2 separate regions of the Homo sapiens genome follow, and region 2 is linked to region 1. Evidence: promoter capture Hi-C in human tissues and cell types (Jung and others, 2019). All regions are on one chromosome and are shown on one strand. The core of a region is centred on a gene start or on the middle of the fragment in contact, and the rest is flanking DNA. Distances in the headings are between cores, read along the strand shown.

Evidence for each region. Contacts are between HindIII fragments. The study calls those that stand out against the background at their distance.
Region 2: a contact is called between a fragment that was not itself captured here and the fragment with the promoter of YES1 in region 1, in 1 of the 25 tissues and cell types used here (H1 embryonic stem cells).

Annotation. Positions count from the first base shown.
Region 1 is chr18:809,828-815,054 of GRCh38, forward strand. YES1 (YES proto-oncogene 1, Src family tyrosine kinase) reads right to left here and starts at 2,415. Exons shown (of 12, transcript NM_005433.4): 1 at 2,287-2,415. RefSeq lists silencers at 2,022-2,111, 2,182-2,241, 2,292-2,801 and enhancers at 2,533-3,075, 3,076-3,617. The HindIII fragment of the contact is 17,179 bases long and covers 1-5,227 here.
Region 2 is chr18:530,771-535,669 of GRCh38, forward strand. No RefSeq gene overlaps it. Among named protein-coding and RNA genes, the nearest start is that of LINC01925, 18 kb to the left of the region's middle. The HindIII fragment of the contact is 4,543 bases long and covers 1,095-4,899 here.

The DNA.
Region 1 (5,227 bases), core at 1,165-3,664:
GGCTTAATGAATTACACTAAGACCAATACCCTTGGTAACTCCTACCAGGTTAAAAGAACTTTGTCACCACTTCAGAAGCCAGGTCCCTATCACAATCTCCTCCCTCTTCCCATATATTTCCCTTCATAGAACCACAGGTATTCTATGCTTCTATTTTTACGTTCACAGAATTTCCTTGCAGGTTTTTTTTTTTTTTTAATTACCCAAGTTTGGGTGACCCCAGCGCTTAGCATCACTTAAAAAATTGTTTTGGCATTAGTCTTCTTTCTTACTATAATGCTAATAGAATAAACGATGTCTACACTGATTTTGTAAAGAAAAACTAGCCATAGTAGTAAATCATTTACTGTCTAACATGATGCAAATTTCAACTTTGAATAAGTAAGTCTTACACCATCGGTTGGTAATATTTCACTTATACAGGTTTACTTCTAGTCTTTTAGCACATTTATTCTTTTATCAATACATACCATGAAGAAATTTTACTTGCATAGACATTAATTTTTCAGCTTGTGAATTTCCTGAACTAAAACACACACACAAAAACAGCCCATGTATTAATATTATACTTCGACCACAAGACAAATTCCACCTAACCCAGGAAGACAGGTCAAAGCTGTAATTTCACTTTCAGATGAACAGAAAGGAATCAATTTTGTGGTTTATGAAGTCAGCAAAACCTAACTACGAAATTAAAGCCATTATAACATTACAGTGGTTACAACAGAGTATATATTTTAAGAGCCCTTTTATCTTTTATCCTGGAAACATGGATATAAACTGTTTTGTTTTCAGATCAAAGGCAATTGTCTTTTTCAAATGTAGGACCCTCTGAATTGTCAACCAGCATTTAAAATCTCCACCGACTTTTAGCTAATGTCCAAAAATAAAAATACAATTTAACTTCCTTTCCTTACATGTCAATTGTGGCAGGGGTCTCACACTTATAAGCAAACAAACAAAAACCAAAAAACCATATATATTATTTGCTAAAGTAAAACTTTCTTACTGTACAATATATGAACATCGTAAGTGATGCATACAAGATCCTTGGCTAATACAAGATACTCCTTTATTACCTGACCATTCAAAATGCTTCCTGTCCACCGTGTGCCAAGCACTGTGATAGTTAAGATATTAGATTTACCATGCACTTTTCCTTAAATGCACAGTCACGTGTATACATTTAGTAATACTTTCCTTAGTGCGTAATTTAACTTTAGAAGTGTAACAGGATGGTTTAAATATTTAAAATTATCAAGGTATCTTTGGCACTGTAATCTTACAGTTATAATACATGAAGATACTATAATCATATCATGTGAAATCGACTGTGAAAACACACACCCGTGGAACGTATATACATAATAAATGGACATAAAATTGTGCTTCCACCAAAGACTTTCATTATTTCCTTTAGTAATTTATAATTATACAGTATGTTATTCCACGCCTGTATCAATTAATTATGCAGAAAATGATTCAACCAAATCCGAACTGTTAAGTCCTACTCATTACAAAACAAAAACTAAAGTCCCTACACCAGACTTGATTTTCAAAGAGCTTCTTAAAACAGCTCTGCCCCATGCCCAATAAAGTGAAAGCTGGAAGCAATTATCAAGAAGAAAAACACACTTTAAGACAATTTTCTTTAACACATGTGGACAGGGAACCGAACGCAACGGGAGGCGGAGTGGCATGATTCCGTAAAAGTGGACGCTGAATGGTAAATTTCCCAACCCCCAACCCAAAACAAAGGAAAACTTTAAACATGTTGCGGTTTTCAATCAAACCAAGTAAAGCCAGAAAGGCTCATCCACTCGCCCCACACACCCGCTCCTCTCCCCGCACAGCTGCTACCGGCGTCGGCCGATACACAGACCCCCAGCCTTTAGGACCCAAAGGGGCCGCTTCCCTCGCCCCTACTTCGGCCGTAGGGGCAAAAATAAACCTCTCCTCCCCGTCGCCGGGCGGTCCACACGACCCCAAAGACAAGGGGTGGGGAGTGTCCCCACGCCCCTGGAACCTCAGGTCGGACTTGGGCGGGACCCGGCAGGTCTGGACAGGGCAGAGACCGAGTCAGGGGCGAGCAGGTAGCGCGGGGAACGAGACAAGCCCGCCGGGCGATCCGGGGGAGGGGAGAAGTTTCTTCCCAACTTCCCGACTCGGGCCCGCGGGGGCGGGGAACCGCGGCGGCGGCGGCGGCGGCGGCTCCGGGCGCTGGGGCCTAGCCCTGTCCGGGCAGAGGTGGAACCCTCCGCCCGCGGGGCCCCACCGGGTCCTTACCTGTCCTCCGGCCGCGCTCTCATGAGTCGCTGCTACCGCAGCTCGAGGTGGCGGAGGGCGGAGGCGAGGCCCGCGGGCCCTCTCCCTCCTCCACCTCCTCGTCCCGGGGCGCCCGGCGGCAGCAACGACGGCAGAGCCGGCCCGGGACGCGTTACTTCAGGAGGAGGGAGTTCCCGGGCTCCCCACGCCTCGGCCTCACTCTCCACCTCCTCCGCCCCCCCCCCCCGGCCCCGCCCCCTGACTTCTAGCGGGGGCGGGGGCTGCGGGTACCTGCGCGCGCCGCCGTCCGCTCACCGGAACTCGGGCCACGCCGGCCCGGCTCCGGGGCCCCCAGCCTTCCGGCGCCTACGCCCCCGTCAGGTCCCCTCCGCGGGCTCCGGGCCGCTTTGCTGTGGTCAGGATAGGCGACCGGTCCGTGTCACTTCTCCCGACCCAACATGGCGGCGGGGTCCGGGGCGGATTCCCGGGGGCGGTGCAGGCCGAGGGGGCGTGAGGAGGAGGTGCTTCCCTGCCCGGAGAGCAGGCCCGCGGCGTCCCTTCCCACCCGCGAACCCACCGACGCTCGGCTGCCGCGGAGATTGAATGGAGCGCTCCGATTCTGCCCCTCTGCCTTTCTCTGTTCCTTGGCCCAGCTCTCAGTAGTGGCCAGGGCTTTGGGGCTTGCTTTTGTGGGGGAGGACGGGGTTGAGTTTTTTTGGTTGGCTGTTTGCTTCTCAGCGCTACGCTTCCGCACCCTTTGTCGTTGGTAGTAAAATCTCAAGCCCAACCGCGTGAGCCGGGGGCGTTACTCACACCCTCATCACCATCCTGATCGCCGTCCAAAAAACGTTCACGTCTTGCCTCCTTCCGAGGCAGGGATCCTGTCCCTGCCCCCAGGAGCTTCCTGTTGACTGTAGGTCGAACCAGCCTTGCCGGGAGGGGAACCGAAGCTGAGTTCTGTTTGGCGACTATCCCAGTCATGGTGGCTTTGGCTTATGTTGGGACAGCGTTTTTCTATATGATGCTGGCGGCAGCCCAGTGAGGGAAGTGCAACAAGTATGGTTCTCCTGCTTGTCAACTGTGGAAACAGCGACCCTGAAAGTGGAGGAGCCACAGCTGGAATCGTGTCCGTCTGAATACACGCACCTTTCCTATGAGCCTTGTAAAGCCAGTCGTTGAAGAAGGGGGAGGACCCGGAAGGATGGGGTGGGGGCGTAAAGATGAAGGTTAATCAAGGTCCTCATGGACTGAACCTTGAGGCCCTTCTGCTGCAGTCACTTTTGCCCTATCAGACTTTTAGAGTAACTTCCTCTCTTTATTTCCTCTTTGGTGGGGTTATCAGAATTATTTTGTGACTATTGGTTTCCTTTGCGGTTTTTAGTGAAATTCAGAATCATCTTCGACGGATAGGAAATAGTGCAATCATATGTGTCAGTATTCCGGTATTCTAGGAACTTAAGGAAATGCATATAAGGGTTTGAACATTTTTTTCTTCAGCTCACTAAATGAACGAAAGGTAGGCGTAGGCGTTAAAGAGACACATAATGTGGAACGATGCTGTATTTTCTTAGCTACTAAAACTTCATTTGTCATTGACTGTCTCAGGGCTTTAAAATTTTATGTAGGTCTATATTCAGCTTTTATTAAAATAGAAAATTCCTTGAGCTGTTGCCTTTCTTCACTAAATAGAGATAATTTCGTCTTCCTAAACACTCAGTCTCAAAAATCACCTCTAAAATAGGCCGGGCACAGTGGCTCACACGTGTAACCCCAGCATTCTGGGAGTCCAAGACAGGAGGATCACTTGAGTCTAGGAGTTGGAGACCAGCCTGGGCAACATGGGAGACCTCCTATCTATTTAGTAAAATATATTTTAAAAAATAATAATGAAATGAAATAGTAGTTTGCCCCAGTTTAAGGGGTAAGGTGGCTTTGAAGATGTTCTATATGGAGTTTTAAAGTTGGGAGAGTATGTCAGAATGTCACCTACAAGTTATGGATTACATTGACTTACTGAGTTTGCTTCTCTTCGCCCTCCCTTTTTTTTTTTATTACTACATTCCCTGATTTCTTTTTTAGTATATTCATCAATGTCAAACTTCAGTCTGTAAATAACCTGGAAAGTTTTCAATCTTACATTTAGTGGCTCACTTGTTTCCAGGAATATTTTTTAAAAAATTTTTTAATGAGGAAGAGAAAACTGGAAAGTCTTACTGAGTTTGGTGTAACAAAAATTGCTTTTAATCTGTTCATCCTGAAACGGACAAATAAGCTTGCCCCTACTTTTCCCTCCTGCACAGCATAGAGGTGTGGTATGTACATGTGTGTTAGGGAGTGATAAGGAACTTAAGTCTTGAAACCCCTGGAAATGTCTGCTGGAGGAAAAAGCTAGGGGAAAGCTTTAAACAAACAAACTTTATGAGATATGTTAGGTCCCTATAAAAGTAAAATGCTTTCATTTATGTAAGTTGATTAATGCTTAAAATTATTTGGCTGGAAGTTTGAAAAGCTGAAAGTTGAACTAGGGCCCACTCAGTACCACCTTGGAACCTGTGATTCTACCAGGAAATGTTTTTGTTTAGGGTAAACCTCTCCTACGTGCTATCAGTGATATGCTGCTGCTGCTGCTTCCGCCACTGAGGCTATGATGATTTTCTCTTCCTGGTAACAGTAAAAAAGCCTGCAGCCCTACACAAGGTGCCTCTTTTCTAACAACCATCCCCTCACCACCTTCCTCAAATCCATTCAGTGCCTGACATTGTCTGCACCACCTTAGCTTTGCCGCCTCCACCTGGCCAAGACTGCTCCTATGCCCAGTTAGGAAGAATATGAGAACCCCTCTCTAAGGATTAATTTGGAAGATCAGGAAAAAGGAAGGTATTTCTCCTTGAGTGTTGGGCCTATTGTGCCAAGCTCAGTGGAGAAATGCACCAACTCATCAAGTTCTCAATGCTCCTGATGT
Region 2 (4,899 bases), core at 2,116-4,615, 280 kb before region 1:
GTGGCGATGGATTGCGGTGATGGCTGCACGTCATGAGTGTATTTAATACCACTGAACAGTACACTTAAAAAAGGTTAAAGCTGAATGTAGTGCTGCTCGCCAGTAGCTCTAGCTACTTGGGAGGCTGAGGCAGGAGAATTGCTTGAGCCCAGAGGTTTGAGGCTGCAGTGAGCTATGATTGTGCCACTGCACTTTAGTCTGGGTGACAGAGCAAGACCCTGTCTCAAAACAAAAACAAACAAACAAAAAATCACACCACTGCACTCCAGCCTGGTGACAGAGTGAGATTCTGCCTCAAAAAACAAAACAAAACAAAAAAAAGGTAAGATAATAAATTTTATGTGTCTCTCACGGTAAAAAAAAATTTAAGACAAAAAGAATATACTGGGAGTCATGCTGCTTGCTGGCTTGGCCTTGAGCAAACCGAAGGCTGTAGGCAAGTCCCCCAACCTCTCTGGACTTCCAAATCCTCCCTTGAAAAGCAAGGTCCTCCCCAGCACTTAATCCTGGGAGCTATTCCTCCAGGATCTCCAGCTTTCTCCCTTTTAAAAATGGAAAGGACCTCCCTAGAGTGATATGTTTTGTAAATTTAATTTTGGGACTTTATTTCTTTTCTCAGAACATGTGTCTTAGAAGATGAAACAGAGAACTAAGTTAACTGTCCAAAATGATTCAGACCAAAAAGAAGTGCTGATAAGGCCAGGTGCAGTGGCTCACACCTGTAATCCTAGCACTTTGGAAGACCGAGGCAGGGGAATCGCTTGAGCCCAGGATTTCGAGACCAGCATGGGCAACATGGCAAACCCTGTCTCTACAAAAAAATACAAAAACTAGCCGGGCATGGTGGTGCATACCTGTGGTCCCAGCTTCTTAGGAGGCTGAGGTGGGAGGATCGCTTGAGCCCAGGAGGTTGAGGTTGCCATGAGCAATGACTGCACCACTGCACTCTAGCTTGGGTGACAGAGCGAGACTCTGTCTCAATTAAAATAATAATAACAAAAAAATGCTAAGAAGTCAAATTTTTAGCCTTGCCTGACATATCTGACCTCCCTTGACCAAATAATGCAATCTCTGTTGTCCTACTGTCTTGCCTGGAGGACTGAGCTAGATGCAATCAGGTCTTCTGGTGTCCAGATGGTCATTGTAACACAATGTCTCTGGCAACCACAAGGAGAAAAATACAACCTTTGAAGCTGAGTCCCAGAAGACAGAATCTTAATTGAGAACAGTAGAAAGAAATCCATTTCAATAGAAAATTATCCATAGTTTAATGTGGATTTGTCTGTAATTACTCCCAAGGAATTCTTCACTTATCAAAGTCATTGTGCCTAAATTAGATAAGTCATTTTTCTCAGAGAAACAAGTTGAGAAAGCAGAAGACCACACCCAAATCAGGAATACTTGGCACAGCAGAAGCAGCGTGGGGTGGGGCTGGGGATGGAGGCAGGTGAGTCTGATGATTCACTCACGACCAGAGCAGGGCTTGTCAAAGCATCGACATCCGCCCTGTCCCTGGGCTCCTGTTTCCTCAGAGCACATAATCAGGGGCCTTCAGTTCCAGGTGGTCTGTTTTCCCAATCTACAATGCCTGTTGTAACATCTTATCCCTCTTCCTCTTTCCAATTTCCTCTCCCCTTCCTCTTGACCATTTCCCCTTCTCCTCTCTCCTCCTCCCCAGTAACCCCTCTGCATAAGCACGCTCACATATAGTTCCATAAAGCCAAATCCAAGACTCAATCTTTTATTATATGAGAAAACTAAAAACAAGAGTGAAACATCAGAGATTATTTTCCAACATAATAGAATTTTCATATCAGAAGTATATCTAGCAAATCCCTACGCAAATCTCTGCGTTTGACCATTGAGTCAACAGGCCTGAGGAGCTTTTGTGATTGTCTCCAGTTGATATACAACTAAAGTAGGAATTAAAACCAGGGCTCCCAATACCCAGACATTCTCCACCACCATCTGATGACAGTAACACCTTAGACATGTATAAAGTCTGCACTGTAGAAGCACACTTTCCCATATGGGACTCAGCCTAGGCATTAGGCCAGCTGGCTATGTATGACTCCTATTATTACTTATACAAACAATAAGGCTAAGAAAGTGAGTGTCTTCCATTGGGCCACCTGTCTATTAAGTGGCAGAGGCAGGGCTTGAACTCTGGAGTCTTGGGCCAACTGCTGTCTTCCATTGCATGCTCACACTTGTATTTTAGGGTCAAAGGTGCACACACAAATTTATGCATGGCAACAGAAATGATCTGGTTCAAGTAATAAACTCCTAAGTGTGAAGTTAATGCCATAAAATGATTCTGGGAGAGTCTATTTGCTCAGATGGTGCTTCCTGGCTCAGCCTGGAAGCATCATGGCCAGTCTGGATACATTCACCCAAAGTCTCCTCTTAAATTTAGTACTCTGTCTTTAGGGCCTAAGTATTTCATCTGTTTTATCATCAATCTCATCCTGAAACTCAGGATAGAGCGAGCAGTTGCAGTCTAGGGCAGGAACACCAACAAAGACATGAAATATCTGTCAGAGTCCATGATTCCTTGAGATCCACAATTGTGATAGCATTCAAATGATACTCAAAGCTGTTAGGAGACCTAGGTTGTAACATGCGTTTTTTCCACTTAGTGCTATACATATCATAAATGTTTCCACACCCACAAATCTATTTCCATAATGGGATTTGTAGTAGGTGCATAGGATTCCACCGTAGGTGTGCCCTGTATTGTCTGTAGCCAATCCTGAGTTGTTGAATTAAGGTTGTCTCAGATTTTTTATGTTACTAACAGAAAACCTCAGTAACATCTAAGTCATTAGTTATGACTCCTTTCCTATTTGAAGACAATATGAAAAAGTTGGAGTATAGAAGATCAGATTGATGTAGGCTGACATATAGACCTGTATGGTTTCCTCCAAAACACCTTTTCCCCGGAAAGCTGTTTGTTCAATATTTTGATTGGTGCTGTCTAAAGGGAGCTCTTATTTATGAGAAAAAGAGAAGCTGATTAGTACCCCACTCATGAGCATGCATTTATTTAATTAGTCAGTTATGGAATGTTTATTGAACACTGAGTTATGTCCACTGTGCTAGTCATGTGCTAGGCAAAGATGGCCTAAGACAGATTCAAGCTGGGCGTGGTGGCACATGCCGTAGTCCCAGCTACTTAGGAGGCTGAGGTGGGAGGATTGTTTGAGTTTGGGAGGTTGAGGCTGCACTGAGCTATAATCGTGCCACTGCACTGCAGCCTGGGTAACAAAGCCAGACCTTCTCTCAGAAAAAAAAAAAAGACACTTATATCTCGGTTAAAGCTCGCAATCTGGTGGATGAGGTGCTAGTGTACGTTTCAGTCTTCCCTCCTGGAGAATGAGCTGCCCAAAGGCAAGGATGAAGCTGGTCCCCTCTCTGCTCACCTGGCACCTACTTCAGCAATCTGTTCCTTGGAGTCCAAGATAAACATTTACTGAAGGGATGAGCACATTTAACTTAAAGTGAATGATTGAAGCCACTTATTTTCCAAAATTGAGAAAAGAACACAGGGTTATGTGAGAGGGAAGTAACTCAACTTCTTTCCTGCTTTAGAAGAGCCTGAGGTTGAGACTTACTGGGAATTATACAAGAGCATTTCGTCTCTTGTGTTGGCTTGCTTATTTTTACCTTTTATTTGTTTTGGGTCCCATCCAGTCATGAGATTAGTTACCGGCAACTCAGTTCCTTGTTACTAAAGACTTAAAGATAACTAATAAAAATCTTAACAATATTAACATTAAATGATTGTTAATGTATACACCAGGCATGTTATCTATTACTAGTTCCATTAGCTTTAGTATTCCTAATAACTTTCTTTTATCCATAAAGATTGTCCAAAAGCGAATAATTAGAAGAAAAATTTTATAATTGGCCAACTGAAATTTAAATGACTCCCTGTTTTTTTTTTTTTTCTTTTCCTTTTGAGACGAAGTTTCACTCTTGTTGCCCAGGCTGGAGTGCAATGGCGCAATCTTGGCTCACTGCAACCTTTGCCTCCCAGGTTCAAGTGATTCTCCTGCCTCAGCCTCCTGAGTAGCTGGGATTACAGGTACCCACCACCATGTCCGGCTAATTTTTGAATTTTTAGTAGAGACAGGGTTTTGCCATGTTGGCCAGGCTGGTCTCGAACTCCTGACCTCAGGTGATCCACCCACCTCAGCCTCCCAAAGTGCTGGGATTACAGACATGAGCCACCATGCCTGGCCTGTTTTTTGTTATTTTAAAAGATAGAGTCTCACTCTGTCGCCAAGGCTGGAGTGCAGTGGTGCCTTCATGGCTCATTGCAGCCTCGACCTCCCAAGCTCAAGCAATCCTCCCGCCTCAGCCTCCTGCGTAGCTAGGACTACATGCATGTGCCACCACTCCCGGCTAATTTTTATTTTCATTTTTAGTTTTTGTAGAGATAGGGTCTCACTATGTTGCCCAGGTTGAGAATCCCTGACGTTTTATTCATGTTTTAGAAAAAAGTTTTAAACATCTTCCTTAGGAACAACCTTATAAACGTTTTAATTTTCATTTATAGTGAAAGAAACTTGTCTCTCAAGCTTTCTAAAAGTAATTTTGAGAAGTTACTATAAATAACCTAGTTACAGGGCTGGGTGCAGTGGCTCACACCTGTAATCCCAGCACTTTGGGAGGCCGAGGCATGGGGTGGATCAAAAGGTCAAGAGTTTGAGACCAGCCTGGACAACATGGTGAAACCCCGTCTCTACTAAGAATACAAAAATTAGCCAAGCATGGTGGCATGTGCCTGTAATCCCAGCTACTCGGGAGGCTGAGGCAGGAGAATTGCTTGAACCTGGGGGGTGGAGGTTGCAGTGAGCAGAGGTCATACCACTGCACTCCAGCCTGGGTGACAGA